Linked DNA regions of Homo sapiens: all the other regions are linked to region 3. Evidence: promoter capture Hi-C in 16 types of primary human blood cells and fetal thymus (Javierre and others, 2016). All regions are on one chromosome and are shown on one strand. Each heading gives the region's core, a stretch centred on a gene start or on the middle of the fragment in contact. The rest is flanking DNA. Distances are from core to core; before and after follow the strand shown. Region 1 holds the start of HDDC2 (HD domain containing 2). Region 2 has its middle 34 kb from the start of ARHGAP18. Region 3 holds the start of ECHDC1 (ethylmalonyl-CoA decarboxylase 1). Region 4 holds the start of L3MBTL3 (L3MBTL histone methyl-lysine binding protein 3).

Evidence for each region. The method cuts DNA at HindIII sites, captures the fragments that hold promoters and counts their contacts. A CHiCAGO score of 5 or more calls a contact.
Region 1: the fragment with the promoter of HDDC2 here is called in contact with the fragment with the promoter of ECHDC1 in region 3 in 2 of 17 cell types (total B cells and naive CD8 T cells); the score reaches 5.3 in total B cells.
Region 2: a fragment that was not itself captured here is called in contact with the fragment with the promoter of ECHDC1 in region 3 in 1 of 17 cell types (non-activated CD4 T cells); the score reaches 6.6 in non-activated CD4 T cells.
Region 4: a fragment that was not itself captured here is called in contact with the fragment with the promoter of ECHDC1 in region 3 in 2 of 17 cell types (fetal thymus and non-activated CD4 T cells); the score reaches 8.1 in fetal thymus.

What each region holds. Positions count from the first base shown.
Region 1 is chr6:125,300,564-125,303,931 of GRCh38, forward strand. HDDC2 (HD domain containing 2) reads right to left here and starts at 1,404. Exons shown (of 6, transcript NM_016063.3): 1 at 1,286-1,404; 2 at 1-96. The coding sequence starts at 1,369. RefSeq lists a silencer at 1,094-1,433 and a cis regulatory region at 2,927-3,107. The HindIII fragment of the contact is 13,888 bases long and covers 1-3,368 here.
Region 2 is chr6:129,742,272-129,745,686 of GRCh38, forward strand. No RefSeq gene overlaps it. Among named protein-coding and RNA genes, the nearest start is that of ARHGAP18, 34 kb to the left of the region's middle. The HindIII fragment of the contact is 1,169 bases long and covers 1,289-2,457 here.
Region 3 is chr6:127,342,359-127,345,930 of GRCh38, forward strand. It overlaps ECHDC1 (ethylmalonyl-CoA decarboxylase 1), which reads right to left and starts at 1,251. Exons shown (of 6, transcript NM_001002030.2): 1 at 978-1,251. RefSeq lists enhancers at 536-1,409, 2,284-3,157. The HindIII fragment of the contact is 1,394 bases long and covers 188-1,581 here.
Region 4 is chr6:130,018,429-130,021,650 of GRCh38, forward strand. It overlaps L3MBTL3 (L3MBTL histone methyl-lysine binding protein 3), which reads left to right and starts at 153. Exons shown (of 23, transcript NM_032438.4): 1 at 153-236. RefSeq lists silencers at 633-762, 1,713-1,952, 2,003-2,072 and an enhancer at 2,433-2,492. The HindIII fragment of the contact is 3,997 bases long and covers 1-3,222 here.

The DNA.
Region 1 (3,368 bases), core at 154-2,653, 2.0 Mb before region 3:
GATCACCATAGCCATAACTGCCATCCGGTACATGTGATCTGAAACGCTCTCCGGCCTCTGGACATTTCTGTATACCCAGCCAGTTCGTGGGACTCTCTGATAAATATGAAGAAGAAAAAGAAGTTTTAAAGAACAAATATTAACTATCTGCTATGCTCTTCAAGAGATGTCCAGGATATAACACACAGAAGCCGGGTCATAATTTCAGAACCTATTACAAAATGTTTTGCTAAACTAGCTAAAATGATAGACATCTGGAATCAAATGAACTAGAGAGCTCAGAGAATGAAAGGGGTAGAAGACAGAGAGAGATAAGTCACAAAGTCCATTCGTCAAATTATTCTGTTACTGATGTATAATTATGGAACATATGCAAGTCCTTTAAACAAAAACAAAACTGCATTTTTCCGAACAAGAGTTGCGGCTTTTTGCCTTCAAATAATCCTACACAAGCAGAAAACACTGTATTGAAGGGTCTGAACGTGAACGAGTGATAGGCTTCCAAATTCTGAGGCACAAGGGATAAGGGCACTTCTAATTGCTTGATGCTACCAGCCGTGACTCTTCCTTTTATTCACATCATAACTTCATCTTGTGAAACTGCATTTCTTCCTCAGAATTCTACATCTCTAAGGAATGTTATAAATAGTAGTCAGAGTGGCATGAAACGGATAATTTACTTTGAACTTGGGAGAGAGACGGGGAAGACGCACATGATGAAACTCGTGTGTATTACATTAAATCCCGTTTGGGGGGTGGCCGGGAGAAAAGTCTTGTTTCTGGAAGTAACTGTGAGACAGACATAAAAAGCTCCACTTAAAATCTGAGGAGCCGACAGATTCTGTTCTTCCCACCCGTGCTCAGAAGCAGCCGCGCTTTACACACACACACACACACACACGAGTTCTGGGGTCGTGAGCACACACACACACACACACACACACGAGTTCTGGGGTCGTGAGCCCCGGAAAAGCTCAGTGCAGGCAGGGCCAGGCCGGCTGCTCTCCGGGAACTGGCGCGGCTGCAGTGCGGACCTCGCGGCGCCAGGCTCTAGGCTCAGACTCCGGGCCGCCCCAGCTGGCCAGCCTGTCCCGCCGGCTGCTTCCTCCGTCCACCGTCGGCAACGCGCGGCCGCATCCGCAGGACTGGGGCCTTTCCGGAATTCGGCGTGGCGGACGCGGCGCAGGAAGGGCAAAGACCGCCGGCCGAGCGGGGAGGCCGGAAGCTCCGCCGCCCCACAGTCCCGCCCGCTCGGCCGCGGCCTCCCGGCCTGGTGCCCGCTCACCTTGAGCTGCCCTACCAGCCGCAGGAACTGCAGTAGGGACCGAGCCCCGTGGCCCGAGAAGGTCGCAGAGGAGACCGAAGCCATGCGGCCACCGACCCCGGCTGGGCGGAGCAGGCCGCGGCGAAGCTCCTCCCCGTCCTCCTCCTCCTCCCCTTCCCCTTGTCTTTCTTCCCCCTCCTCTTACTCTTCTATCTCTTTCTCCTCCCCCTCTTCTTCTTCCTTCTGCCCCTCTTCCTGCTCCCCCTCTTCCTCCTCCCCTTCCAACTCCTCCTCCTCCTCCCCCACTTCCGCTTTCTCCTCTTCCTCTTCCTCCTGCCCCTCTTCCTCTCTCCCCCTCCTCTTCCTCCTCCTCCTGTTCTTATTCCTCCTCCCCCTCCTCCTCCTGTTCTTATTCCTCCTCCCCCTCCTCCATATTCTCACGGTTTTCTCAGGACCTTCTGTCCAGCCTTCGCCTTCTTGGCCTTGGTGTCCGCTGCTTGGGCATTGCTCCGTCAGTGGCAGACACCTTGCTTGGCACATACTTGACACTCAGTACTCTTTATGAAAAATAAAGCTCTCCTTTCTAAATTTATGAACCTCGTTATTCTTCAGTTGACAGTGTAAAACCATGAAACTGGATGAGGTCACCTGGCAAGAGGGTGTGAATGAAGAAGAAAAGACACCCAAGACCTGAACCCCAACATTTAGGCTTTGTGAGATCAAGAGGGAACAGCCAGTGAGGTAGGAAGAGGATTAGTAGGTAGGATAGTTGTGTCCTGGAAGCCATGTACAAAAATATTTCAAGAAGGAAGGAATATGGTCAACCAAGTCAATGTGAGGACCAAGGTTTGACTTCCAGACTTAGTAAATTCAATATTATTGGTTACCCTGACAAAAGCAGTTTTCAGTGTAGTGGGCCAAGCAGAACCTAGTGAGATAATTCCGAAGAGAATAGGAGCAAGTATTACAGCACATTGGAGATGGGGTTGGGGTGCTGTTAACTAGTGGAGAGATTGTTTCAAAACAGGAGATATTATGTATGTTTACTGATGAAGGGGATCTAGTAGAAAGGGAAACATTGATTATGTAAGAGACAAAGAAGAGAAATATTTGAATGTCGGCCTTGAGTAAGGAAAAATATTCCCATCTGGTGTACAAGATAAAAGATGGGCTTTAGATAGGAATATGGAGAATTCATTCAAATATTGGAGGAGGACAGAGTATAGGGTGACTAATCAGTCGCACATGTGGTCATGGGAGGTTGTAGAAGTTCTCTTCTGATTGCTTCTATTTTCTCACCAAATTAGGAAGCAAAGTATAGGCTGGGATGTTATAATAACAAACAACCTCCTTATTTCCTGTATCTCAGCAGTTTAACACATCAAAGGTTTATTTCTCTCTCATGCTAAGTGTCTATTGTAGATCAGCTAGAGGATGCTGCTTGCTCTAACCTTACTCAGGGAGCTAGGAGGCTTTCTTTGCTCTCTTTTGCCAAAATTGGAAAAAAGAAAAGTGGCACTCTGGCTCTTAAAGCCTGTCTCTGGAAGTGATATATGACCTTTTGTCTACGTATCATTGGTGAAATAAGTAACACTGCCACGTCTAACTTCAAAGGGGGCCTGTGGAGTGCAATCTTGCTAGGCCTCTGGGAAGAAAGGAGGCTAGAATGTTTGTGAATAGAGGAGGAGGCATTTGAGGTTTAAGGAGTGATATAGTTTGGCTCTGTGACCCCACCCAAATATCATGTCAAACTGTAATCCTCAAAGTTGGAGGAGGGGCCTGGTGGGAGGTGATTGGATCATGGTGGCAGACTTCCCCCTTGCAGTTCTTGTGATAGTGAGTGAGTTCTCATGGGATCTGGTTAATGGTGTGTAGCACTTCCCCCCTTTGCTCTCTTTCTCTTCTGCTCTGCCAGGTGAAGACGATGCCTGCTTCCCCTTCACCTTCTACCATGATTGTGAGTTTCTGCAGCCATGCTTCCTGTACAGCCAATGAAATACCTTTTCTTTATAAATTACCTAGTCTTAAGTAGTTCTTTATAGCAATGCAAGAATGGACTAATACAAGGAGAAAGAAGGCATGAAATAATTTTTTTGAAGACTGG
Region 2 (3,415 bases), core at 623-3,122, 2.4 Mb after region 3:
ATGCCTTCTCACTCTTCACCAAGTTCTGGTAAAACTTGCTCGTCTCTGCTAGAGAGGCTTAGACATTTTACATTCCAGTTTTCTAGACTTCCATTTTACATTCCAGTTTTCACCCTTCTAGACATTTCCACAATATATTATAATTGATTGTCTTCTTGTGTAACACCCTACACACAAGTCTAAAGGTAAGATCCCTAGATGGTAGGTCGTTTTCCTTTTTTTACTAAGGTAGACTGTCAGATAAGAGAGTCTTAAATATTGTTAAATTAATGAATCAATGAACAGTAAATTATGATACGAGCTCTTTTCAGGGAGGGAAAGCAAAATGAAATAGCAGATTAAGGTGCCTTGCTATATTCTTATTTCATCAACTAACATATGGTGTTCAAAGTCTTATTAAAAGTGTATTTCTGAGTAACCTCAGATCTCTCCATTTATTATCCAGTGAAAAAACATCTGTCAGTAATGGGTTATCCTGTAAAAAAATTAAAAAGGCTGGGTGTGGTAGCTCACACCTGTAATCCCAGCACTCTAGGGAGCCAAGGCGGGTGGATCACCTGAAGTCAGGAGTTCAAGATCAGCCTGGCCAACATGGTGAAACCCCATGTCTACAAAAATACAAAAATTAGCCAGATGTGGTGGCACATGCCTGTAATCCCAGCTACTTGGGAGGCTGAGGCAGCAGAATCGCTTGAACCCAGGAGGCAGAGGCTGCAGTGAGCCGAGATTGTGCCACTGCACTCCAGCCTGGGCAACAGAGCGAGACTCTGTCTCAAAATAATAAAAAAAAAAAAAGAAAAAAAAGGACTAAATATCACTGAATATACATTTTAAAATGGGTAAAATTATGTTTCATATTATGTATATTTTACCACAATAAAAAAGCAAATAGAAACAAGAATTATTTTCTAATTGTTATGGGAGAGGGAAACATACTTAGTAAACTAATACAATACCTACAATTTTTTAACCAATTTCTTTGAATGGACAATTTTTAAATGTGTTGAGCTGAAATTGAAAACAAATCTAAGGGTAGAAACAAAGCAAGTGAAATGAAGTTATGAAAGCATAGATCCATGTTTTTATTATAAAATGAAACCACAAAGAGCCCCTTAATTAGAGAAAACAGAGAGCTATTACTGTAAATGACATCCCCATTAGTACTACTTAAATGGCAAGGGACAGCTTACAGCTCACGTGTGACTATGAAGTTAACTGGTTTTACAATAAAACACATTCTAACACTGTCTAAGAACTGTCTATGAGTGAGATTTTTATGTGGTTCATAAGCTTATTCCAAAAGACATCCCGGTATAGGGGTTCCTAGGGTACTTTGACATCTGAGGGACAAGTTGTAATAACAGATCCTTGAGCCCTTTACTCATAAATTTTCTTCAAAGGGGATAATGTTTCTGCTTTGATTTAGACTAATCAGCAGTGACTTTATAGGCAAACTGCTTCTTTATTTTGGAACTTTAATCAAAAGCTCTAGTCTTTATAATATATACAGAAAAAGCAACTACATTTAAACTCAGTCCATCATTCACGTGACTTATAGATATACAGATCAAACACATTCTGCTTCTTTTATTTTTGCCATTCTCAAAAATAAAGCACTTCTTAAATTGCTTTAACTAAGATTTTCCAGGTTTCCTTTATATATTATGTAACGTGTAACTCTGAGGAAAAAAATCATCAGTGAAGAAATAGTTAATCATATAAAAAAAAGTGCCAGCCCAACCACAGAAACAACACTTTCCTAGAAATAGTCAAAGCATACCAGATAAAGAGCAGTAACAACTTTCTAAAAACAAATTCCCGAATTTTCTGTGCACCTCTTGTAGTTATTTTTCTTAATCAAATGTGAAAAAGATAAGGGAAAAAAGTATTATCCATTGACTCTGATGATGTGGTGGCAAACAATAAGGTTAGTATTTTCTGTCACCTTTTTCTTGAGATGAGGCTAGGAATCCCTGTACTTTTTAATCCCCAGTATCTGCCATAGGCCACATGGAGTTAATGGATTTATTTTTTCCACTACTTCTTGTAGACAGATAATCCAGGATCATAAAATAGAAGAAACCAGTTCACACAGACTGAGTGCAGCCAAGTGGCCATCAGCTTCTTCCTGTTCCACTTCACTGAGCAATTACTGAACAGACGAGCTGTACAGACTCTAAATGAACATCGTCACTACCTCTCACTTGTTTTTTGCTTCTGACCTCTTTAAAGGTTCGGACAAAGTAGGTACATTTTGTAGAAACCTAAATAACTTATGAGAGGAGTACAAAGTAAAAGCTAGTTATCAATTCTGCATGGCCTGCCATGCCCTTTCACCATCCTGGGGACATAACTTCCCCCCAAATGATTCCAGTATCAAATACCATTATTTTGTTGCTACTTGATCTACTTCTAAGGCCTAGTGTTTAGACCTTGACATATAGCTTTGTCAAACAAAGCTTCCATCCTCCCCACTCTGCAGCTTCTCTCCCTAGTCCCATGACCCTCTCTCTCTCCACGGAATTCTACACTTGAATCTCTGACTCATCCCTTTGTGTTTTCCCAGAGTTGACACTTGATCTGCTTGGGCTGTGGTCCCAGCCCATCCCTTACAACTTAGCTAACTTTCCCTATACTTGTCTTCAGAGATGCTGGACTTACGATATCAACCAACCTGCTCTCTAGCTGACCAAATTCCAGACACTGGCACCCCGGGCCTGCTACTTCACTGTAATTTGTAGACTGCATACTCGATACAATAAAGAGTATGAAGTTATTATGTTGGTGCAAAAGTAATTGCGGTTTTCATTACTTTTGATGGCAAAAACCGCAATTACTTTTGCACCAATCTAATATTTGGCAGTAATGCCCAAGCTATTTGGGGAGGTGGGAGAAGGGACACATTTGCACAGCTAAAGACTAAGACTTGATAATAAGAACTCTGATTCAAAAACGAGACATATATCAAGGGAAAAACTACATCTTGTCAGCACAATGTGAAACATGCAAGAGGCTTCAGAGAACTGTAATATGTGACACATCGAATAAGCTTACCTCAAAATATAAGTGAAGAGAAAGGTATCAGAACATCCTTTAAAGTACATTATATGCAAAGTTAGTAAGAGTAAGTTTGGCCATTTTCAACAAATCCTTTTTTTCCCACATAACCACAGATATAAAAGAATCTCTGGATAATATTACAGGAGTAATAGTGGAGGAGACACAGAAAAGCACGTGCAGTCTCTACCATCCAGGTACAAATAGCAGGAAACAATTATGTATATAATAAAAGTTTTCCCAACCCTCTGTAAAACCCACAACAGAAGCAGAATGTTGGAAACTTGCAGGCTTCTATCTAGGTTGGGGGAGCTTTTCTCTGGTTATATATGTTTACCAAGAATTGGCAAGCTATTAG
Region 3 (3,572 bases), core at 1-2,500:
GTTTCAATGCCATGCTTCTTCACAGGCTGGCTTCCCTTCCTGGAATGTTAATCATTGCAGGAATCCCAGCTGATTATACAGTCGCCTTTCAGGCCAGAACCCAATAAAAAATCAAGAAAGGATCGCCCGTTCTATTACTGCGCTGCTCCCTCCCCTCGTAGATTTCACAAATATACTTCTCACCACAAGCTTGTCTGTTCCAAGAGAATGCTAGCTCTTCTAAAGAAGGAGCCCTTTGTTTTCCTTGCCCTTGTCCAGTTCCTCTGCATACCTCTAGCACCTAGAGCAACAACTGCTATACAGGAGCCCAGATGTGGAACAGAGCAAAGAACTGAGTGTTGATTTAATGTTGCCTGAAGTCCTTAACAGCACCTTCAACCTAAACTTAACTGTGTTTTTAATCCCCTACACGTGTAATCCCTGTATGTGTGCGCAGCGTTAAAAGGATTATTGTAGCTCAAAAATTCTCCAATGAAAGAACCTCTACCAGAAAGGAGTTGCTCATCTTTCGTTCTTGAAAAGTTGGCTGCACGATACAAGTAAGAAAAGTTTTAGTTAGGCAAGACAACTTATACATAAAAGACAATTATAGGGAACATTACCTAACTTAGCACAGGGCCTCGAATGTATTCCGAAATTAAATCAGCATGTAGAAAGCAAGCCTCCTCATGCTTTTTAAAGTGTAATCTCGCGACCTCGCGGCGCGCTCTGGGAAGACCGATTCATCTCTTCCCCTCGCCCTCTTTCCCCGGCCGGCGCACAGCCGGCCCGTGGCGCTCGGCACCGCGTCTCCACGTCCAGCGCGGGGCAGGCCTGCGCGGCGCTTGCAAGGGACAAGCCGCGGAGCCGGGGAGGCTCGCCGTCTGGGACACGTTTGGAGAAGCGAGCGGTACAGTCCATTCCACGGCGACATTTTAGGATTCTCCCACTGACAACACTAAACTGAAGCGCTAAGACCAACCCTTACGACCACTTACCGTCGCAGGCCACGGTGGTGACTTCCTTTTCCGCTCCCCTACACACGCTTTTCCGTTTTGCGTGCCTTTGTTTCCGCTCCCCCCGGGACCATCGTGCGCCCCTGTCCTCCGTTCTTGTAGGTCCTCTCCTCTTCTCCGCGTCTTCTCTTTTACTATCCCACGCTCTCCTTTCCTTTCTCCGGGAACTTTATCCCGTTCCCCTGCCGGTTCCCGTGACCCCGGAAATCCCGCTCCTGCCGCGAGGCGCCCTCCGCTTCGCGCTCCCTCGTGTCACGAGGGAGCCAGGGTGGGCGGTCTCCTATTGTACTTGGCTTTTGAATTTTCGCTTTTGCAGCACAAAGGTAGGGCTGGGAAAGGAGGCTGCCGAACCGTGCTTGTTTTCGCTCAGATAAACGTGAGAAAAAGTGGAGGTGAGGAAGCCAGTGTAGGCAAATAGCGAGAGGGGAGAAGACAGAAAGGTACCGAAGGTCGACCTTTTTTAGGTATCTTATCCAAGTTATTGAGGGGAATGGGTATTTAGCCAGTTTTTTGTTTGTTTGTTTTTATCCGAATATCCAGTGTGTGTCTTGAATGTGTGAATGTGACGTGTTTATAAAGCTCAGTAAGCTTAAAATTCCGTGCCAATACATTTTGTATGCCGCAGACAGGAAGTGCTTTGGAAGACCCTTGAAAGGGGAGGTGATTTTACACCAATATTGAGATCATTTTGTCAGAGTCGTGGGACTAAAGGTAGACCTTAGGTAGTCGATGTCAAAGATAAGCGCAGCTGGACGTTAAAGCGGTGAAAACATTCAGTTAACTACTGACAGGAAAGAGCTGAGCTCTATTTCGATTCGTGCAGAGATCATCTGGGCATTTTTAAAGGGACGTTTTAAAAGGAGAAAGGGGATATGCGGGCGCTCAGTAGAGAAAGTGAACCTACAGAGTTGTTAGTGTAAATGTGATTAGGCCAGCTGTGTGTTTGTGTGTGCGCGCGTTTTAACAGTTACCGCAGGATTCTATCCTCCTACGGAGGATTTTATCCTTCTCGATTACATTTCAAAGGAATGACTCTCTGGTCCTTGAGAGAGAACTTCTGAGTGGCAAGAAATAAGTCTTTACAATTGCAAGCCCTTTAGTAAACGTTCTAAGAAAGGGATGTCAGAGACCTATCATCAGTTGTGTGCTGGTTACATCACGTAGTTAAGCTTTCTGAGGCAGTCGCCCTGGGCACAGGGCCTTATGCTGCTAAAGCTTGCTAGAGTTTGGTCAAGTCTCTGAACGCAGGGGTTTAGATGGGATGGTCATGTTCCTGGAGTTCTGCAGTGGTCATAGGTATGATTTGAATAAGTACAGGGAATATTCTAGTCGGAGGAACAGAATGTGCCAACGCGCCGAACAGGGAGGATAGTTTTACGATACGGAGATGTGTATGATAGGGAATAAGTGGGAGCCCAGTTTGGACTAATTGGAAGAAGTCATTATTAGAAGTACTGTATTTAATTCTAGTTTGTTATAAAATGAGACTCCAAGATCACTGAGCCATTTCACTGAGACTCCAAGATCACCCCAATGCTAGGCTAATCTCCATGGCGCCTAGATCTATGCCCACTCCATTCCCCATGTTGGTCCCCATAGTTTCAGGCACCAGGCTCCAACACCAGGTTGGGCCCTACAGCCCCAGTCTCCAGGTTGGCACCAGTGGATATAGGCTTTAGGTCCACTGACTGCTGGTCCCTACAGCCCCAGGTTCCAGTGAACCCAGGTTCCAGGCCTGCTCCAACAAACCCAAGGTCCAGGTCTACCCCAGTAGACCCTGGCACCAGAACTACCCCAGAGGGCCTAGCCTACAGGCTACCACCCACAAACCCAGCCTCCATGATGGCCTCTGAAGAATCAGGCTTTAGGTCTTCCCCAGCACCAGACTAGACTGCTAGACTGATGTTCCACTTTTGTCCCCATGGACCCAGGCACCAGGCCCATCTGAGAGGTTTCTTCAGTTTTATTTTTCAGTAATAACTTTCATTCTTCTTTCTCAGTGATAACTGTAGTACTCAGTGGGCTTTCTATTTCTGGCTCCCATTTTCCATCTTTCTTTTTAACACTTTGGGAAAATATCCAAGTTAAACTCTATATAGTGGGGTAGGTGGACAATGAAAGATAAGTAAATACATAATATGTATAATCAACGGAGTGAAAAGACAGCCTGCAGAATGGGAGAAAATATTTGCAAACTATATATCTGACAAAGGGTTAATATCCAGAGTATATGAAGAAGTCAACTCAATAGCCAAAAAAAAAAAAAAAAAAATCCAATTTAAAAATGAGCAAAAGGCCTGAATGGACATTTCTCAAAAGAAAACATGATGATGACTAACAAATATATGAAAAAATGCTCAGCCAGGCACAGTGACTCACACCTGTAATCCCACACCTTGGGAGGCCAAGCAGGTGGATTGCTTGAGCCCAGAAGTTCAAGACCAGCCATGGGCAACATGGCAGAACCCTGTCTCTACAAAAAATCACAATTGGCTGGGCAATGTGGCATACACCTATAGTCCTAGCTACTCAGGAGCCTGAGGTGGGAGGATCACTGGAGCCCAGGAGCTTGAGGCT
Region 4 (3,222 bases), core at 461-2,960, 2.7 Mb after region 3:
GCATTTGCCACCCGGCTTTATTGCTGCTTTCCAGCGGCGAAGGCGCAGCAGCAGTAACAGGGAAGCCAGAGCGAGCCTCCCCGGCAGCGGCGGCGGCGGCGGCGGCACCGGCACCAGCGCAGTTTCCCCTCTCCCCAGCCCTGACTCTACGCGCACATGCGCATTGCGCCCGCAGCCCTGGACCATTTGTCAGGACTACTCGTGAGACGGAGAAAAAAAAAAGAGAAAATTTGGGGGTAAGAAGCGGTTGATCGGATCTAATCTCTAATTAATCTGAAGATTTGTCCGTGCAAAAGCCATTCATTTATTTTTCTGGGTGAGGATGAAAGTTAAGAGCCCTATAGAGGGAAGGAAGCGCACCCTCGTCTTGTGAAACAGATCAGGGGAGGGGAGGGACAGAAGGGGTTTCTCCCCCACTTCTCTGCGCCTCTGGGAAAGAGGAGAAAACTTAATCCCGGGGAAAAAAGTGGGCAAGTGACTCGGAAACGGCTGGAGGGGGAGTCTCTGGGCATCTCACTCTGAAGTAGTGAGTGCGAGTGTGAAAGAGGAACAAAAGAGAGAGAAAAGAGAAAGGAAAAAATGGGGGGAGGAGAGACTTGTATTTTTTTCTTTGCGCGCACACGGGGAAGGGTGTGGGGGGCCGTGCGGAAGGGAGCCGGGGCGAGGCGGCCGCGTTGGGCTCAGGCTGGCGCGCAGGCGGCGGGATGCGTGTGGCCCCCTCCCCCGCGCCCCCCGAGCTTGTCACTTTGGTCGCTTTCGTGACACCGGGCGCGGGGTGGGGGAGCGCGGCGGCGCCGGGCTCCACCGGGGTGCGTGTCCGGGTGGGCGCCGCGGAGCCGCAGCCCAGGCGGCGAGCGCGGCCGCCGAGGCGGGGGGCGCCGGCGGGGGGCGCGGGGGCGGCCGGGGCCGCGGATCGGTGCGGCGGGAGGCGCGAGCCCCGCGCGCCGCCCCTGCGGCCCCCTCCGCCCGTGTGGCCTTTGTGCCGGGCGCGCACCGGAGAGCGAGCGAGCGGGCGGGCGAGCGCGAGAAGTACAAGTACGGGAGACCGAGGCAGTGGGAAAAGAGGCCGGGCCACTTTCTCCCCTTTCGGGCTGCGGAGAATGGACTGGTTGAATGTGCAGGCGCGTCTCCCCGGCGTGTGCTGTGTGTGTGCGCGGCGGAAAGGCCTGCCCGACTCCCACCGCGCACACGCACACTCACACGCACGCACACACACGGACCCGCGGCGGGGCTCGGCGGCCGAGAGTTTGCGTGGCTTCCTCGCCGCCTCCCTCTTCCCAACCGAGTGTGTGAGAATTTCATATAGATCAGCTCCAATTTCCGCCATTTTGGGAAAGTTGCACAAAAATAAACCCTCCGGTTTATTTCTGCCCGAGGCAGGAAAGTGCTTTGGGAAGCGAGGCGGCGCGGGCCCGCGGCGGCCGTCCGCGCGGGAGAGGGCGCGGGCCGCGGGCCGGGCCGGGAGCCCGCGCCGTCGCGGCGTTCGCCCCGCGCCGTGCCGCGCCGCGCCGGCCCGGGTGCGGGCGCGGGCGCGGGCGTGTGTCGGGAGGCGGCGGCGGCGGTCGCGGCGGCGGCGGCCGCGCCGGGGCGGCGGGCTTGTGGGGGGAGGGTGGGGGCGGCGCGGGGCTGCTTTTCCTGCAACTTGTTTACGCCTGCCTTATTCTGGGGAGGAAAAGAGGGGTCGGGGCCGGGGCCGGCGCCGGGGCCACCGCCCGCCTCGCGCCGCGTGTGTGTGCGGTTCCGGAATAATGGGCTTTGCACACTCGCGTCCTGGGCCCCGCGGGCCGTCCTCGCGCCGCGGCGGCGGGGCGGGGGGAAGTAGAGGCCGGCGGGGGTGGGGATCGGGAAGCGCAGGAGCCGAGGCATCCGCCGCGCGCCCCGCGAGCTGGTGGAGTGTGGGGGCCGCCGGGCGGGGAGAAAAACTTGAGAGCCCTGGAAGGGGAGGAGGGCACGGTGGCACGGGCGGGGGGAGGGCGCAACTTTTGGACTGGTGGTAAAACTTTAATTACCTTTAAAGAAAAAAAGGCCCTGCGATTCCCCCCTCCCCCAGTCCCGGTCAAAGCACAGCCCGCAGCGCGACCGTGAGAGAAAGTTTAAAAGCGGGCGTGTTCCTCCCGGGTCCCCGCGGAGGGCTGGGGGCGTCGGTCTGTCCGTCGCGCTCAGAGGGAGGTGGGGGTAACTAGCCGCTTTCCAGGGCGCGGGGACCGCGGCTCTACCCCACCCTTCCACGGGAGACGGAGGTAAACGTTGCTTCGGTTTCCCTTCTGAGTCCCCCTGCTGCCACCACCCCGCTTCCTTTTCCTCCCCCTCCCCGCCGATTTTTTGAGGGGACCCGAAAAACGGAGTCCCTTTCCTTAGGCAACTTCCTCGGGCGCTGTGAGCACGGCCCTCCCCCTCACCGCCCCCACCCCCAACGCCTCGCATCCCTTGGCCCGCTTCTCCACCTCGGGGCCACCGCCAGAAAAATGCATTCGAGATCATTCAGAGTGCACAGAAACAAAAATAGATTTTTAATTGTTAGGTTAGGGGAAACTGAGATGAGAAATAAGAATTTGGGGTGGGGGGGCGCGGCCGGGGCGAGTGCGTCCAGTTCTCCTTTTGGTTTTCCTAGAGCGTTGTTTGTGATGTCTTTATTGGTTTAGGGAGTCCGAGAGGCTCTATGCTGGCTATCTCGGTCGCGTGGATTTTTGCGCAAGTTTTTAGAAAAACACTGACTCGAGTAGAGAGCATTTCTCCGGAAAGTTTCAAGTGCAGCAAAATAGCGAACGTGCAAAACTGGCCAAGGGGAGACCTCTAGTGGTTGAACGCGTCTTTTAAGTTCGGAAGGCCGAGAGCAAAGTTTGGCCTTTACTCGTAGCTACGTAGTCCGTTCAGACGTGGAAGTAATTAGAGGACCTGAGCGAGCAGCCAGATGTTGTGTGAAAGGATGCTGATCAGAAATTGAAAGTTTAGTAAATCGAAGCAATGAATTCTGAGGACTCAGACCCTGTAACTTCCATCCGACATGAGTTATATGGGAAAGACACTTTGCTTTTATTCAGAGATTTGAGATTGATCGCTCCCTGAATTGGAAACAATTGTTTGCTTTTGCATTTATCGGTGTCTGTACCTCTGATCAATTTTTAATTAACGAGTCTCAGCTGATGACTTTATTTTGAATGTTAAGAAAACTGCTAAGTTGAAATGTGTTTAAAACTTTGAAGAAATGGAAAAGACCTTTAG